Regions from separate parts of the Homo sapiens genome. Here region 2 is linked to region 1. The links are contacts of gene promoters, found by promoter capture Hi-C in blood cells and fetal thymus (Javierre and others, 2016). All regions are on one chromosome and are shown on one strand. The core of a region is centred on a gene start or on the middle of the fragment in contact, and the rest is flanking DNA. Distances in the headings are between cores, read along the strand shown. Region 1 holds the start of HEY2 (hes related family bHLH transcription factor with YRPW motif 2). Region 2 has its middle 2.3 kb from the start of HSF2.

Evidence for each region. Contacts are between HindIII fragments. The CHiCAGO score rates a contact against its expected background, and 5 or more counts as called.
Region 2: a fragment that was not itself captured here is called in contact with the fragment with the promoter of HEY2 in region 1 in 1 of 17 cell types (total B cells); the score reaches 5.0 in total B cells.

Annotation. Positions count from the first base shown.
Region 1 is chr6:125,747,993-125,751,105 of GRCh38, forward strand. It overlaps HEY2 (hes related family bHLH transcription factor with YRPW motif 2), which reads left to right and starts at 1,640. Exons shown (of 5, transcript NM_012259.3): 1 at 1,640-1,867. The coding sequence starts at 1,785. HEY2-AS1 (HEY2 antisense RNA 1) reads right to left here and starts at 1,433. Exons shown (of 5, transcript NR_183491.1): 1 at 967-1,433. RefSeq lists a silencer at 1,149-1,858. The HindIII fragment of the contact is 5,509 bases long and covers 1-3,106 here.
Region 2 is chr6:122,395,774-122,398,886 of GRCh38, forward strand. No RefSeq gene overlaps it. Among named protein-coding and RNA genes, the nearest start is that of HSF2, 2.3 kb to the right of the region's middle. The HindIII fragment of the contact is 1,681 bases long and covers 721-2,401 here.

The DNA of each region.
Region 1 (3,113 bases), core at 390-2,889:
GCCTGGGGTTAAGTTTCAGAAGCCAAGATGGAACGATTCGGGTTTCTATTCACAAGGTTATTGAAGGCATGGCGGTGGGGACCGCGCAAAAGAGATGAGAGTGTGGGGGGAAAGGGGTTTCTGTTCTAATAAGGGCTTAGCACGCTGGCCGCAGGTCCTCCGCGCCGACCGGGCTCCTTCCCGCTCTCCCCCGGGCCAAACCCCGCCAGGGTCCCGTCTTTCCCAGTCGCGTCCTTTCCTCTTCTCCCCGCCCCGCGCCGGGCTTGTGTGGACAGAGAACGGAGTGTCAAAGGGACGCCCTGGGCCGATCCCCAGGAAGCTATGAATCCCTCCGTGACGGAGGGGTCTGGGGATCGATAGACGGCCCTTTCTCAGAGGCTCTCTCCACTACTGACCAAGCGGCCCTGCCAACGTGTGGTTTCCGGCTGGACCCCAACCCAGCCGCCGCCAGTCTCCCGGCGCCCCTGGCTGGGTCTCGCTCAGTCCCTGCCCTCGCAGACGCACAGCGGGGTGGCCAGTTCAAAAGTCCTACATAACTTGGAGAGAACCAGCAGCTAGAAAACCTGTTTTAAACACACAGCTTGAGTTTTATACAACCCACGTTGTCCAAGGCACGAACTGTTGGACACGAATTCATACTTTAGAAACCAAATCTAATTTCCAAGCGCCAATCTTCACCTCCCGGACTCTAACTCTGCGGCTGCGAGTGCATACACCAGGGGGACTGGAGGAGACTGGAGGCAATTATCTGGATAATCCAAGCCCGAAAAACTCGAACTTGAAAATATACGATTATGTCCTGAAATGCCCGCGTCATTGATCTAGTCTTTCCTACCATCAGAGCTGACACAGCTCCAGTCCACGGGCTTCTCCGCGGGGTCTAGGATCCACAGTCCCTGGGGGCTGAAGACCCAATGGAAGTAACTGATGGATCGCAAATTGGAAATCGTAACGTGGCCGACAGACCTGATCAGGAAAACTCGCGTCCTTATATGAAACAGCCCCGAGGCCGCGAAAGTAGCCTCAGGAGTTGTCAGATTCAAAAGCAATTTTGATTTAAGGTTTTCAAAAGCCCCAGAGGGCAAATGTGACCACTCGGGTCAGCCAGTCAGCAGTTTGGATCCAGACAGGGGACCACCGAGTGGGGCGGCCGAGGAGCCGCGGCGCCTCCCGACGTCACACGCGCCTGCTCGCACTTAGCCACGCGCTTGGGGTTATTCTTTACACTCAGGACTGAAACTTCGCCCGCGAGACCGCGGGGCGCGGAGGAGGGCCGAAACCCAAGGTCCAGGTCCAGGGCCCGCCCCCGCGCGCCCGCGTTGGCGCCCGCGCGCTCCCTCCGCAGGGGTTAGCAAGATTGCGCTCATTCTCGCCCCGGCTGCTCCCCACCCGCTCGCTGCTCTGGGGTACCAGGTCCGCGGCCGCGTTCCCACGCCTCGGCTGGAGCCTTGCGGCGGGCATTGGCGAGCGCGGCCCCGCCCCCTGGCCCAGCCAATCGCGAGCCACGCCGACCAGCGAGGGGGAGGTGCCGGGCGGAAGGCCTGGGCCGGTGCGCGGGGGCGGGTGAGGTGGCCCCACCCGCTCGAGGGGGGGGCGTGGCCGGCGCCGGCTCTTGCGGCCGAGCAGAGTTGCGGCGTGGGAAAGAGCCGCTAGGAGCAGACCGCGCCGCCGCCGGAGCCGCGCCTGCCCAGGCCCGGGGAGGGAGGAGGCGGGCGTCAGGGTGCTGCGCCCCGCTCGGCGTCCGAGCTTCCGGCCGGGCTGTGCCCCGCGCGGTCTTCGCCGGGATGAAGCGCCCCTGCGAGGAGACGACCTCCGAGAGCGACATGGACGAGACCATCGACGTGGGGAGCGAGAACAATTACTCGGGGTGAGCGCGGGCTCCGCGGGAGCGGCCCGCAGCTCGGGAGCTTGGGGTAGCTTTGTGAATGCGTGGCTCCCTGGAAATCCCGAGGCTGGTCTCCGCAGCATCTAGGTAGAGAGGGAAAGTTTGGCCTGAGAAAGTTTGAGTGGTGGGCGCTCGCAGAGCGTGAGTTGGGATGGGGCAAGGGATGTGGATTTTCACCGTAGGGGTGGAGTAGCCAGGATGGGAGACGCCACTGAAAGGCAGAGCGCAGGAGTTGGCGAGGGAGGGTCCTGGCTGTCACAGTTGGACGCGCGAACGGCAGCGTCTGGGCGACAGGCGATGTCCCAGCCACTGAAACCGTATTTGGGGGCACTTTCAAAATAGATCAGGAGAAAATAAAAACAATTTGATTTTTGATTTTTAGAGATACCAAAATCACAACTTGATTTTTGGAGGAATTAAAGCAACCTGCGATGTCAAGGCTACGTAGGTTGAACTTTGCAGGTTGACCGTGTGTGACTTGGCTAACGCAAGAGTGAGTGACAGATGTAAGCATCGGAAAGGGCATCATTTCTTTGACTGCTTGTTCTCAAGTCTGGAAGAGATCGGCGTCGTAATCACAGAAGCCAGACCTCCACTTTCCTGTGACAGAGGGAGATTACCGAGGCATTTTAGAGCCAAGGCGGGTCAAATGATAATTGCTTCTAATTGGCATCCCCAGAAGCACCTTAATTATTTATCTGCAGCTGTCACTCAAAGAGGGAAATTCTTCCTACCTTTGGAAAACTGGTTTTCTTTCATATTGTTATTCTAATACATACAAAGCAAAGCACAAAATCTGCAAGAGCAAAGATATTTACACGAAAGCAAAGGTTTAAGTATCTGATCATTAAAGTGTTGTTGTGCCGTCTTTAAAAATGAGGTCTGAAAAACAGAAGCTATCACGTGAAAGGTGAAACCCGTAAAGAAGGGGTGAAAATGAGGGGGACAGGTAATTCAGAAATAAGATCCAGAAGTGAGAAGGTGAGGTAATAGCAACCTGGTGTGTGCAGCATTTCTAAAATGAAAGAGAACAAATAACAGGAACCTGGGGAATTTGAGAACACAAAGAAGCATAGTATCCATGAATTATGAAGAGAAACAGATACAAACTAGAAAGGATTGTAAAAATTATGTGACCAAATAATACTTTGATTGAACCTTCAATATAAAAATATATTTTCATTAGTAAATCCAAGGTGCATTGCAGCTTCTGGAGATTTAAGCTTAG
Region 2 (3,113 bases), core at 311-2,810, 3.4 Mb before region 1:
TATTCTGGAAATTATGGGAAGTCACTGAATAGTTTTAAGTCAGGAAGTGACCTTTTCAGATTTGTGTTTTAGAAAGAGATCCATAAAGATTGTGAAAGTGGACTGGAGGAAGAGACAATTTCTTTGATCTTCAAAACCACCCTGTGAAGTGAGCATAGCAGATATTTTTCACTCACATCTTATATATAAGGAACGAGGACTAGAAAATGTTAGGTGATTTGCCTAAGGTCCCCTAAGTCATTCCAAAATTGAAGAAAATCAACACTTTGTCCAGATAGCAATATAGGTGGAAACCTCTATGCAGTTCACCTTTGGATTTAATCATCCTATCCTTGAAAAAAAAATCTTTAAAAGCTAATACTGGTTGCACCGTTGATTCCAATTAGTTTTGCAAAATCGATTGGATAGAATTTATGGCATCGTCTGATGATTTGAAGCATCAAATTGCTCCATAATATGCTTTTCTATTTCCTAGACAAAGGTCTGGATCATTCATATTTTTGAATGTTATTCTAAATCTAAGTCTTACATTCTAGGCTGCAAATGAACCATGAAAATAATCCAGCTTTTTAAACTGGAGTTAACAGGAGGCAACTCCTTTAAGAAAGTGACATTTTTATCTTCTTGTGTTATAAACATGTCAAAATTGTCGACACTGGCGCAAATCTGTTTCTTCTGATATTTTAGGGATATTATAGGTGGCAAATAATTGTGAGATAAAGCTTGATTTTGTTTTCTTCCCCTCTCAGTTTTATAAATAAGTGCAAACAAGCCAAGTTATAATTTCCTTTTCCCCAAAAAAAGTCTGCATTCAATACTTAGTTTTTCAGAAAATGTACTAATTATAATAAATATTAACGATTATAAGTTCATAGAAAAACAAAACATAGTCGTTTAAGTTATTCCTGGAACATCTGGATTTTATTAAGAGATGAAGGGTGGCCAGGTGCAGTTGCTCACACCTGTAATCTTATTACTTTGGGAGGCCAAGGTGGCAGATCACTTGAGCTCAGGAGTTCAAGACCAGCCTGGCCAACATCGTGAAACCCCATCTCTTCTAAGAATACAAAAATTAGTGAGGTTTCGTGGTGCAGACCTGTAATCCCAGCTACTCAGGAGGCTGAAGCAGAATTGCTTGAACCCGGGAGGCAGAGTTTGCAGTGAGCCAAGATCACACCACTGCACTCCAGCCTGCCAGCCTGGATGACAGAGTAAGTCTCTGTCAAAAAAAAAAAAAAAAAAAAAACAGACAGAAGTAAAGCATAACAATAAATCTGTACATCTTAGTAGTAAGGGAAGCTCAGTTTACTAATTTTTCCTCTATAACAGCAATTCTCAAAATGCGGTCCCAGGGCCAGTAGCATCTGCGTCATCTGGGACTTGTTAAAAATAAAAATTCTTAACCTGTACCCCAGACTTACTGAGAGCCATGGAAGCAAAAGCAGCAATTTGTTCTTTAAGAAGCTGTCCAGGTGATTCTGCGCTAAAGTTTGAGACACATTGGTGTAAATTTAAAAAGCATGTTTCAGACTACGAAAGACCTGGTTTCAATTCCAACCTTAACTAGATGATTTTGGATACATCATCTAAGTTTTCTGGTGCCAAGGTTTTCTTATCTGGTTAATAACTTATCCTTGTCACTGCCCTTATAAGTATTACAAATACTACCTGATAAGTGATATTGCTCATTTGCTTACTGGAAGGCTTCCCTCTCCAAGTGATTCAGACGCATGCTTAAGTTTGAGAACCATTTGTTTCAAACTTACGGTCTATAAGATGCCATACATTGGAAACAGAATCAGCTACACAATTTGCAAGATCCATTGCAAAATGAAAATGTACAGTCCCTTGTTCAAAAACTGAGAATTTCAAGAGGATGAGAACAGAGCATTAAACTAAGTATGGCACCCCACTAAGCCCAGCCCTATGAATGCCCAGCCTTTGAATGTCCAAAGACAAGTTTCTGCTTCTATCTAATCACACCTTCTTTTTTTAGAAGAAAATAATATAATGCCATGAAAGTAGGCCACATTTCCTCCTTAGACACTGCCATTCTTACCTCCTGAGCTGTTGCCCTCCATAGACAGACATGATCATTAGCTTCCTGGTTTTTGCTCATTCTGTTGTCTTCCTTTTAGCTATTCAAATATATTTGTACCTCAAGACCCAACTTAAGGTCCCTATCTGCCATGAAATCCTTCCTTACCACCTTAACCTACTAATCTGTCTTTTTAAACTTATCTAGTACTTATTTTATACAAAACATTTAGCTCTTTTTGTATATATTGAGTGCTGATCACTGTGGTCATATTGTTTCTTGAGTTTGAATATAAGCATCTTGAGCTTTGAAACAGTGTCATCATTGTACAATGGAAAGGGCACATACTTTTGAGCTCAATAAAGCTTGGGTGTAAATACTCTCCCATTTACTTGCTGTGACTGAAGAAATTAATCAACTTTTGAGTCTCAGAATCTTCTCTGGGAAAATGGGATAATAAAACCTAGTTCATTGGGTTGTTGTGAGGATTCAATAATATATGTAAAGCCCTTGGCATATATAAGGGCTCATCAAATATTACTTCCTCTATCACATGCATGCCTCCATATATCTGATTTTGCTTCAGCCAACATCCCAGTGCTGAGCACAAAGGCAGCATTCACTAAATACTTGCTCATTGGAAGAGATATACATATATCTTCCATTAAATGATAGATATATATTTAATGTACTATTTTACATTCACCCAAGAAGTAAACCAATCCTATGTTGAAGTTTTGTATGTTATCTCTGACTTGTTTGTAAGTTTTTGCCTTCACATGCTGACTTTTGTAAAAAAAAAAAGTCGAATTTTGTAGACTTCATATTTTCAAAGCATTTGCACAGCCATTATAGTATTAAAGACACTCTTAGTGGGTAAAAAGATAGATCTTATTCCCAGTCAAGAAATGGAAAAAACTGGCACTGGTGGCTAAGGAATTGTTCTAAATGACAGAACCAGTGTATTTTAATATACAGAAAAATGTCCAAGAGGCTTTATCTAAACTGAGATCTACTGACTCCTTTTCCATTGTTTTTTCCACTATACCAATCTCTTAGGCAAAAAAGACTATAT